2 separate regions of the Homo sapiens genome follow, and region 2 is linked to region 1. Evidence: promoter capture Hi-C in 16 types of primary human blood cells and fetal thymus (Javierre and others, 2016). All regions are on one chromosome and are shown on one strand. Each heading gives the region's core, a stretch centred on a gene start or on the middle of the fragment in contact. The rest is flanking DNA. Distances are from core to core; before and after follow the strand shown.

Region 1 (5,255 bases), core at 1,711-4,210:
GTGGCTTGCTGCATGCGGCCCACACGTTCCCGCACACTGCTCACATCAACACGGTGCTGCAGCTCATGGCGGGCTTGGCAGTGCCAACACTCCACCAGGTAGACGGCGTACAACATGAGCAGGAAGGCCAGGGGGATGTAGACATAGCCGTTGGAGCAGGGGCTGTCATGGTACATGAGGCTGTTGCCCTGGTAGGCGCTGCTGAAGGTGAGGCGCGTCACTGTGGTGACGTGGCACCAGGCCACTGCCCCCAGGCAGCCGTACATGAGCAGCGAGAGCAGGAGGCACTTCCAGTGGGACTCACGGCAGAGGGACTTGGTGAAAGAGGGCTGGATGGGACGCTGCTGCTCAGGTGGGCAGGGAGAGGGGCCAAGATGAGTGGGAAGTGAGAGCAGGCAGGACCCAGCACAGAGATGGATACGGGGATGGAGGGGCAGAGGCCAGCACCAGAGATAACAGGCAGAGAGAAACAGGGATATGGAGAGAAAAGGTGAGACCAAGATGGGAGCCAGGGGCCAGAGGTAGAAACAGAAGTGACACAGAGCAAGCCAGAGGACAGGAAAGGGGACCGGAATGCCAGTACAGGAGAGTGCAGAGAGAGACACCCCAAGAGGCAGAGAAGGATCAGAGCCAGAGATAGAGGCCCAGGCAGCAAACACAGATGGATAGGATGGTACCCAGAGAGCATCCGAAGACAAACACAAAAATGGCAATGAAACAGAAGATGTGGACAGGGAAGACAGGGGAGGACAGACAGACAGGCATCAGCGAAGGAAGGTCCCCAGCCCAGACCCCTTCCAGGTCCTCTAGAAAAGGGGGAGGGACCCACTGACATCACTTCCCCACTTAACAAGTGGGGCCCTCACTTCCAGATTTTTTTCAGTCCTAGGTTCTAGAGGAGCTACTCCCCTCTGACCCATCCACCTCCCTAACCCTCACAATTAGCCTAACACGTCCTTTGGATAAGGGCCTCCAGAGAACCCCAGGCCCAGTCTCATTCCCCATGTTCTGGACCCTGGTTCCCCTGTGAGTCTCCCTCCTGCACCCTGACATCCTTCCCTTTGTCCTAGGATGGGAGGGAGGGGGCTGGGGTCCCTGAGCGGCAGGCAGTCCAGGAGGAGGTATCCAGAAGGGCAGAGGCATGTGGCTGAGGAGAGGACAGGCATAGGGGATGTGGGACTGGGGTAGCGAGGACAACGTTTGAAGCCCAGCAATTTATCAAGAGAAAATTATTTTTGGTACTCTCCTGGAGCCTGTCTGTTAAAGCTCCTGGCACATTCTGTCCCAGGGTTGGCCCAGGAGTTGTTTACATGTCTGGCTCCCCACTACACTGGGTACTCCTGAGGGCCCATGCTTCATTCTCTTTGCATCCTAGGTGCCTACCATGGTGCTGGCCCCCAGCAGCCACATCCTAATTGAGTGTTGAGTTTAATTTCTTGTAGTGGCCTCTGTTTTCCCACCCCTCCTCTGTGCTGTCTAGCTTTAGGAACCCATCCCCCACCACACACACACACACACACACACACACAACCTCCTGCTGGGATCCTGACTTACCCCCTCAATTCCTCAGGCCTGACCTAGAGGCCAGCCAGGAAAGAGAGGAAAAGAGTGGAAAAGAAGGGTACAGTAATAGGCATCGGTCCCTGGATCTAGAAGTATGGATAGTTAGGCGAGCTAGGAAATAGCACACAGTACATGTGGACAAGGAGATTAGGGTACATGTGCCTTTCGGGGAGCCTTGTCCTTAGGAGGTATGAACATACGGGCCCCTTCGTGTGCCTACCTGGTTATGTGCTTGTCCCCATGTGGGTACCTCTGAAAGGGGCTTTACCTGCAGGCCCATCCCCGCTTGTGTGCCTCTGCCCTAGTACAGGGTGCATGCGTGTGCACAAGTGTGCATGGGAGGCTGGAGTGGGGGTGCTCCTGGTACTTTCCTCCGTCTCTTTGTCTTCAGGTTCAGAGGACTGAGTACTAGGGACCCCAACTAGGGATATGAGGAAGCAGCAGGAGCCTCGTGAGAGAGAGGTGCACACCCCCCCCCACACACACACACACACACTCCCAATGACCACAGGCGGGACCCCCCGTACACATCTGACCTCCTTAGGGTCCCAGATCAGGTACCACCACCACTTCCCCATGGTACCCTCCTCGTTCTGTAGCCCGTACAAGCCGCCCTTCCTGGCCTTCAAGGTAGCATCCTCCTCTGTGAGACAGGATCCCCGCCACCGTCCCCACCCCGGTAGAGCATAGCCCCCACTCTCATAAGCCCAGGATCCGCGAGGCTCCGCCCCTAGGCCCCTCCCCCTGCCCGGGACCCCTGAGCCCCGCCCCCGGCGCGGCCCCTTCCCCGGCACCGCGGACAGCTCCGGCCGCCGGGTGGGGGCGGCGGCGCGGACTGCGGCTGCAGCGGCCGGCTCGGGGTGCGGGGCGCCGGCCGCGCTGCGGCGGAACCAGCGGGGGACGCGTGCGATGGGGGATGGGGGGCCAGGCTGCGGCCGCGCCCGGGGAAGGGGCGCCCTAGACTCTCACCTCCTCTCGGGCGGGGCCCTCGTCCGCCGCCGCCGCTGCCGCCGCCGCCGTGAGCTCCTCCGAGACCCCGGGGCCGCCACCGCCGCCGCCGCCGCCGGCGGCGCTCTCTCCCGCGGCCGAGCCAGGGGGGGACATGGCGTAGAGGGGGCGCGTCGAGCTCAGGACCTCCCGGGGGGCTGCCAGGGGCCGGGGGCATCCTGCGCGGGCCCTGGGGAGAGGACGGGAGGGGGCGGGGCCCTCGCTGCTCCCCACCCCCCGCCGGGGGAGGGGGCCCGGAAAGGGCACCGGGAGTAAGGGGCTGGGGGCTGAGGGTGGGAGGCAGGCTGGGGGGCCGGGCCGGGGGGGGCCGGGGCCGGGGGCGGGTGTCACCTTGAGGCCCTCGCGGCGCCGCTCCGCCTCCCGCCCGCTCCCGCCGCCGCCTTTTGTCTGAGCCGAGCTGGAGCCAGCGCGCCCCCCCTTTCCTGCCAGCGCAGCCGAGCCCCGCCCCCAGCCCCCCAAACTCCGCCTTCCCAAGCCTACCTAATAACCACCCCCCGAAGGGGTAAAGCAACAGGGACTCCCCACACCTCTTCCCCGCTCCCAGCCCTGCTCACTGCACCTCCCTCCCGCGCTCCTATCCTGGGAGAATCTGTGCCGCAACCCCTCTCCATCTGTTCTCCGTGGACTCGGTGCCCGAGGTTCAACCAACAGCACCCCCCCACACACACACACATCTCTGGTTCCCCCAAGTTCCCAGGGCAGAGGAGTGGGGAGAGGAAATTGATTCTTGGAACCCTAGGGAAGATCCTTACTCCCAGTTTCGTGGTGAAGGGTTAAGGCAGAAGCTAGACTTCCAGAGGAATGGAATAGGGGGAAAGGGAAGAGATTGAAGCTAGATGTGGGAAAGGACTAACAGAGGGCAGAGGGGAGGGCATTGGAACCGGCCTTCACTGAACCATCTTTCTTCCCTAAAAGAACAGCTCCAGAGAAGCAGTGAAGTGTGTGCAATACCCTAGGCTGGAGGGCAGGAAACCTGAGTTCTAATTCTGAATTCTGTATCTGTCATTAAGGAGTTATGTGACCTTGGGCAAGTGCCTTCCTGTCTCTGAGCCTTAATTTCTTCATCTGTGCAGTGAGGAAGTTGACTGGACAATTTCTAAGGCTCTGACTTGTAGGTGTAGGAAGCAAGCCAGGCTGAGCCACTGCAGGCAGCCTATCCTTTCAGGCCATCCACCCCACACTGCTTTTCCCTGTATCCCCTGGCACAGCAGGAAGGACCCTGACATTTATTCATTCATTCATTTCTGGATGTCTCCATTCAGTAAACAGGTGTTGGGTACCTATTGTGTGCCCAGTACAGAAATGAAACACAGTTTCCTTCCTGCAAGGAGCACAAAGTCTAATGGGGAGAAAAGAACATGAAAAACAACCATTATGAAGAATATAATAAAAGCCATGCATGATCAATCTTGTGCATACACAGTCACTGTGGAATCCTACTATGTGTCATTAGAGTCTTTGACATACAGTAACTGTTCTCCCCAATTACTCACAGGGAACCAAGGCAGAGGGAGAGTGAATGGCTTACTCAAGGTCACCTGCTAGCACTCACAGAGCTAGTCCTAGAATTCAGATCTTTCCCACTCAAAATCTATGGGGAATATTTGTGGGTAGGAAGTTAGTTTGGGGCAAAGCCTCGATGTCTGATTTTGGGGGATAGGGTACAAACACACTGATCTGCCCAGGATGTTCCTTCCCCTTGTTGGGGACAGGAGAGCCACTGCTCCCACCCCTCTAGTCCCACTCCTGGCCCTGCCTTCATTTTACTACTCTTCCCTTTCCAGGTGAGGTGAAGGTGGCTCTCTGTCCACCTATTGCTTAGAGCTATCCAGCCTGCATGGTCCTCTCCAGGTTGATGGGTCCATTCTCCCTGCCCAGAGGAAGGCGGCTGTCCAGAAGAGGCGGGGGTCTGGTTCACTCCCTTGGCAGAGGCAGAATCTCACTTGGTGGTTCATTCCAGCATCTCCTGCCCATGCTTTTTGGGAAGCTGGCCTCACAGCTAACTCCAGCCCCTCTTGTTCCAGTTTCAACCCCTTCCCCCACAGAGAGCAGAGCCCCTAACCTTGGCCTTTCCAAACCCACAGAGGATCCTTTCGTGCTCCCCATTTAGGCACCATAATCTTCCTCTTGACACCCACCCCCACTGCCTTCCTGTCTCCACTTCAAAGGGCTTTGGAGGAGGGACAGTTTAGCTCTTTTTGGCCAATGCTAGAGCTCCCAAGAGACAAAAGGCTACCCCTGCCTTCTCCATTCACACACAGTACCCTTCCCTGGAAGCTACAAGAAAGGGGGGTGAAGGAGGGGGCGGTGGAAGGAGCCAGCTGACCGGCTGGTCACCATGGAAACCAGGCCTGTTTCCTGAAGATGAGCCTAGCTGGGGTGGGTGGAGGTGGGGAGTGGGGGCACAAAGGGAACCAGAAAACAACAGAGAGAAAGACGAGGGGCCCAGCCTCAGAGAAGACTGGAGCTGAGGAGGCGAGGTCAGGTCCCTAGCCATGCTGTGGCCTAAGTCAAAGTCCCCAGGTCACCCTTTCAGATAACACTGCAATGGTCCCCCTCCCCATTCCTGGAGTGTTGGAAAGGATTCCTGTCAAGAGTGCAAGCTCTGGTAGTGGGGCCAGTGGGTGACTCAATGCTGACCTCATGTGGCCATAAAAGGGACTGCCACACACCTGTTACGGCTC
Region 2 (4,831 bases), core at 2,303-4,802, 510 kb after region 1:
AAGGAGGTCTTGTCCTTCACTCCATCCCCTGACCCCCAGGTGACTAGCAGGACACTGATCTGCAGGAAGGGCAGGATACAAACCTGGTGAATTGAAGGAGAGAGAATTGGGTTGGTTCCCCTCAATTCCCTGACCCTGACTGTGGGTCAATCTCTGTCTCTCTCTCTCTCTCTCTCTCCCCGCCTAGGTCTTTGCAACAAAGCATTAAAAAGACAAAGAGAAAGCAAAGGAAAGGGCCTCTTTGGTCCAGTGCCAATGTCCTAGCCCCATGTGGATCTGGAGGTTTGACTTGAGGTAATGATAAGTAATGATGGCCAACTGATAAAAAGATTGGAGCAGAGGAAGCCAAGGAGGGTAACTCTCCCAAGAGGATCCAGTCAGGAAAGGGGGAAGGAATGGGGAAGAGGACCTAGCTGGAGAGAGGGCAGGGCAGAGTCACTGTCTGGGGAAGCTCACCTACCCACACCACCCCTAGGCCCATCAGCCTCTGCCTCTCCTTCATGGGCCCCAGTCTAATCCCCTGACACTAAGCTGTCCCTGATGAATTGCATCTCCCCAACACCCCCAGGCATGCTCACCTTCTGACACTCCAATCTCTGCTATTCCTCCAAGTCTGACCCCAAAACATGCCCATTTCTGCCCCTGTTCACATCCTCCACCCCTACCCTGTCTTGGAGGGAGTCCTTCTGCTGGGAAGAAGGTATGGCATGTGGTGGCAACTAAGGTCCCAAAGCTGTATCTGCCCTTTTGACCTGGGCCTTGCCTGAGAGCTGAGCTAAGCTCCAATTTGTGAATATTTGTAGGGACTACCAGGCACCAGGCTCCATGCTGATTTTATAGGAGGTACAGGGACATCTAGGTAGGGCAGTGGAAAGTACAGGGACTTTGGATTCAAATGGACCCAAGTCACATTCCTGGCTCTGCCACTCACTGTGTGGCCTTAGGTTATTCAACCTCTCTGAGCCACAGCTCCCCTCATCAAAAATAGGAGTAAAAATCCCTGCCTTAGAGAGTTGCTGCACACAGACAAATGTGCACACAGCTGCCCCAGAAAGCAAGATGAGAAAGAGGCCCTGGGGGAGGCACAAGTGTTGTGAAGGTATGGAAGCAAAGAGCCAGACTGGCTAGAATGGGCATCTGGAAGGGCTTCCTGCAGGAGGTGGCTTGGGACATGTATTCCACAAGCAATTATTAAACTCAGCTTGTGATCTCTGCTTTGTGTTGCACCCTGGGACTACAACAGTGTCAGTGGGGGCTTCCTGTCTGGAGGTAAACCAAAGAGTAAACCAAAAATGGGAATTCTCTGAGGAGCATTTAATTGCTGGGAGTAGGGGAAGGCTTCCTGGAGATGATACTTGAGTTGGGTCTTTTTTTTTTTTTTTTTTTTTTGAGATAGGGTCTCACTCTGTCGCCCAGACTGGAGTGCAGTGGCGCCATGTCGGCTCACTGCAACCCCTGCCTCCCAGGTTCGAGCAATTCTCCTGCCTCAGCCTCCGGAGTAGCTGGGACTGCAGGTGCCTGCCACCACACCTGGCTAATTTTTGTGTTTTTAGTAGAGATGGTGTTTCACCATGTTGCCCAGGCTGGTCTCGAACTCCTGACCTCAAGTGATCGGCCCACCTCTGCCTCCCAGAGTGCTGGGATTACAGGCGTGAGCCACCGTGCCTGGCCTTGAGTTGGGTCTTGATGGAAGAGCAGGAGTTTAGCAAACCAAGTGGACTGCGCAAAGAGAACAAGCAAGGGAAGATACCCTGGAAGGTTCTGATGGCTCACACTGAGCCCTCCCAGTACTCCTCTGAGTGATAGAGACTTTGAGGCTAGGCAGGGCAAGGGATTAGGGCGTCTTCAGAAACATTCCCAGCCAAAGCCCACAGAGACAATGCTGCTCCCTCAGGGGGTGAGCTCCACACTGCCTTCCCCGCCCCCCGGGACAGTTTGTCTCTGTCAGAGAATTTAAACAAGCCAACACTAGTGGTAGGTCCAGCTCACACATGGAACACCACTGTTGCTTGCCCCAGGAGTGAGGGGAGGAGAGCAGAGGACACCAGCCTGTGACGAGCACAGGGCCACTCAGCTGGGCCAAGGCATAAAGCAGAAAGATACATTTCCTCCAGCTTTAATCCCTCACTTCATTACCTGGTACCCAGAGCCCTCCTGTCTACCTGTCACAGGCATGTGGCGACTTCGAAACAGCACTGGGCAAAAAAGTCCTGAGTCTGGCTGGGTGTGGTGGCTCACGTCTGTAATCTCAGCACTTTGGGAGGCCGAGATGGGCAGATCACCTGAGGTCAGGAGTTCAAGATCAGCCTGGCCAACATGGTGAAACCCTGTCTCTACTAAAAATACAAAAGTTAGCCAGGCGTGGTTGTGCATGCCTATAGTACCAACTACTTGGGAGGCTGAGGCAGGAGAATCACTTAAACCCAGGAGGCAAGTAAGCCAAGATGGCACCACTGCACTCCAGCCTGGGCGACAAAGCGAGACTCCGTCTAAAAAAAAAAAAAAATTTCCAGAGTCTGTTGCATGCTGTGTGACCTTGGCCGAGTCAGCTCCCCTTGCTGGACCTCAGGCTTCTCCTGGGTAAAGCATGAGGTTCCACTCCCTAAGCTCTGAGGCTCTGTGAGCCTGTAACATCTCCCTCAAACACTCCAGATGAGATGACTGATACCAAATGTCACATCTTCCAGGGCCTGTGTGTTTTAAAAGCCTCTTGGAGAGGGCAGTGCTTAACTCAAAGAAATCTAGCACTAGTGGTGAAATCTGGGGCTCAGCACCAAGTGATGGAAGGGAGAAGCAGTTCTTATGAACCCCTCAAATCCCAGCAGGTAGGGAACCGCTTCCTCTGTTACCTGAGATGCCAGACCTCTGTCCTTTCAGGAAAGACACCAGCTTGATGAACCCTCACTGTGAAAAGCCTCAGCCACCCACCCACTCCCCTTTCTCCACCCCACCACCCCCATAGCGAGTAATGGAAAAAGCCAGACAGGCTGGGTTTGATCTTGGTTCAACACTTCCAAGCTTTGAGACTTGGACAATTCACTTATCTTGTCTGAGCCTCAGTTTCCTCATCTGTAAAATGAGGTTCATGGTTCTTACCTCCCAGGGTTGTAGGGAAATATATGGAAACAGCAAACATCAGCTAAGCTCCTTGCCCAGAGTAGGTATCATATAAATGTTTTTCCCTTCCCTGTCTCCTGTTCCCACCCCCATTCGTGAGCAAACTCTTAGAGAATGCAAACCCACTATCATCTGGCTAAAGTAAAACAGAAACAAATAGGGAAATGGGTTTACCCCACCCCTGGTTAAAAAAAAAGAAAAGCAAGAAATTACATAATGCGTGCCAAAGATGACTAGGGGTTGGGGGATCTGTTGGCTTGGATCCTGCTTTAGTCTTTATTTGAAGCAACTATGTAACTAGGTTGTCACTGAGTTGACTGCAATGTGAGTTCCTTCGGGGAAGTCCCAGGAAAAAAAAGAGGCAGGGACCCAAGGCGCCCCCTACCTCCCAGCAAGAAGGGCCCCTTCCCCCAGCAGCCCCCTGGGCCTGGGCTGGAAGCTGGGGCGATGACCTGGGCCCCCCAGGATGGTTCACAAAGATAAAGCCAGTTAATGATTGGCCCCCTGATTGGCCCCCTGAGAGCTGAGCTAAGCTCCAATTTGTGAATATTTGTAGGGACTACCAGGCACCAGGCTCTATGCTGATTTTACAGGAGGTACAGGGACATCTAGGTAGGGCAGTGGAAAGTACAGGGACTTTGGATTCAAAGTCCCACCATACTCCCTGCTTTCCCAGACCCAGAAGTACAGGGCATGAGGAGTGGGGAGGCCTCCCCTCAGCTTCCAGGATCAGCCTGGCCCAATAGCCTCGAGATATTCAGGGAAGCAGGCAATTAGTCAGAGGATATCCATGTCAGGAGAACATCAGACTGTGCTCCTAGGAGTCTTGAGGGTCCTCAGAGATGGGACAGGTAGCAGGAAGGTGTGGGAGTGGGCAAACACAGTACATGCAGTTTTATCTGCTTCATTTATTGGCCCCTCACTTGGAATTTCATTTGAGGAAAAGTTTCCACTGCTAAAGAAGCTTACTGGCCAGAGGAGCAGAAGGAAGCCCAGAGTTGTCCAAAGCCGGAGCGCTGCATAGAGTCAAGACCTCAACCCAGATCACTCAACTCACAGCCTGGGGCTCTTTCTACCTCCCCAGGCCACTTCATCATTTAATCGGGGCCCAGCACTGAGCCAGGCACCTTTGGGATACACTGGGCTTCTGCCTCTAAGAGCTGACTGGCTGGGTGGGGAGCCAGGCAGTGCCAGAGAGGAGGTGCTAGAACTAGATGCCGCGTGCATAGGAGTGTGTCAGCAGCTGACCCAGGGATCTGTTGTTTGCTCCTCCTTCCCTAGAGGGGCTCAGCACTCCCTTACTCCAGGCAGTGCCCTGCAGAGGCCACAGCTAAACCATTCCCTACTGGGGTCTCCTGGAGAGATGGTCCCGCCTACATCTCCCTGCATGCCAGCCTGCTTATCCAGACCCATCTCCTTCCAGAACACAGCTGGAAGCATCAGGAGAAGTGAGGCAGGGCATGCTCAGAGCTGCTGTGCCTGCTGCCAGCTTCTCCAAGTTCCAGGACCTGGTCGCAGTCAGCTCCAGCTGTGGGGCACAAGGCCCCTGCGGAGCTCAGGATGATGGCCAAAACATTTAACACCTGCTATGGCTCAGGCACAGTTCACATAGAGCTGACGGCGTATGCCAAGCCAGACATAAACCTCAATTTCTGGATGGTGGAGAGGTCCAGGGGACCAAGTAAGGGACTGGGGTGGCCAGAGAGGCACAGGG

The links. The method cuts DNA at HindIII sites, captures the fragments that hold promoters and counts their contacts. A CHiCAGO score of 5 or more calls a contact.
Region 2: a fragment that was not itself captured here is called in contact with the fragment with the promoter of TMEM151B in region 1 in 1 of 17 cell types (naive B cells); the score reaches 5.1 in naive B cells.

Annotation. Positions count from the first base shown.
Region 1 is chr6:44,268,155-44,273,409 of GRCh38, reverse strand. TMEM151B (transmembrane protein 151B) reads right to left here and starts at 2,960. Exons shown (of 3, transcript NM_001137560.2): 1 at 2,533-2,960; 2 at 1-344. The coding sequence starts at 2,667. The HindIII fragment of the contact is 13,529 bases long and covers 1-5,255 here.
Region 2 is chr6:43,762,037-43,766,867 of GRCh38, reverse strand. No RefSeq gene overlaps it. Among named protein-coding and RNA genes, the nearest start is that of VEGFA, 5.8 kb to the left of the region's middle. RefSeq lists an enhancer at 1,595-2,096. The HindIII fragment of the contact is 1,063 bases long and covers 3,021-4,083 here.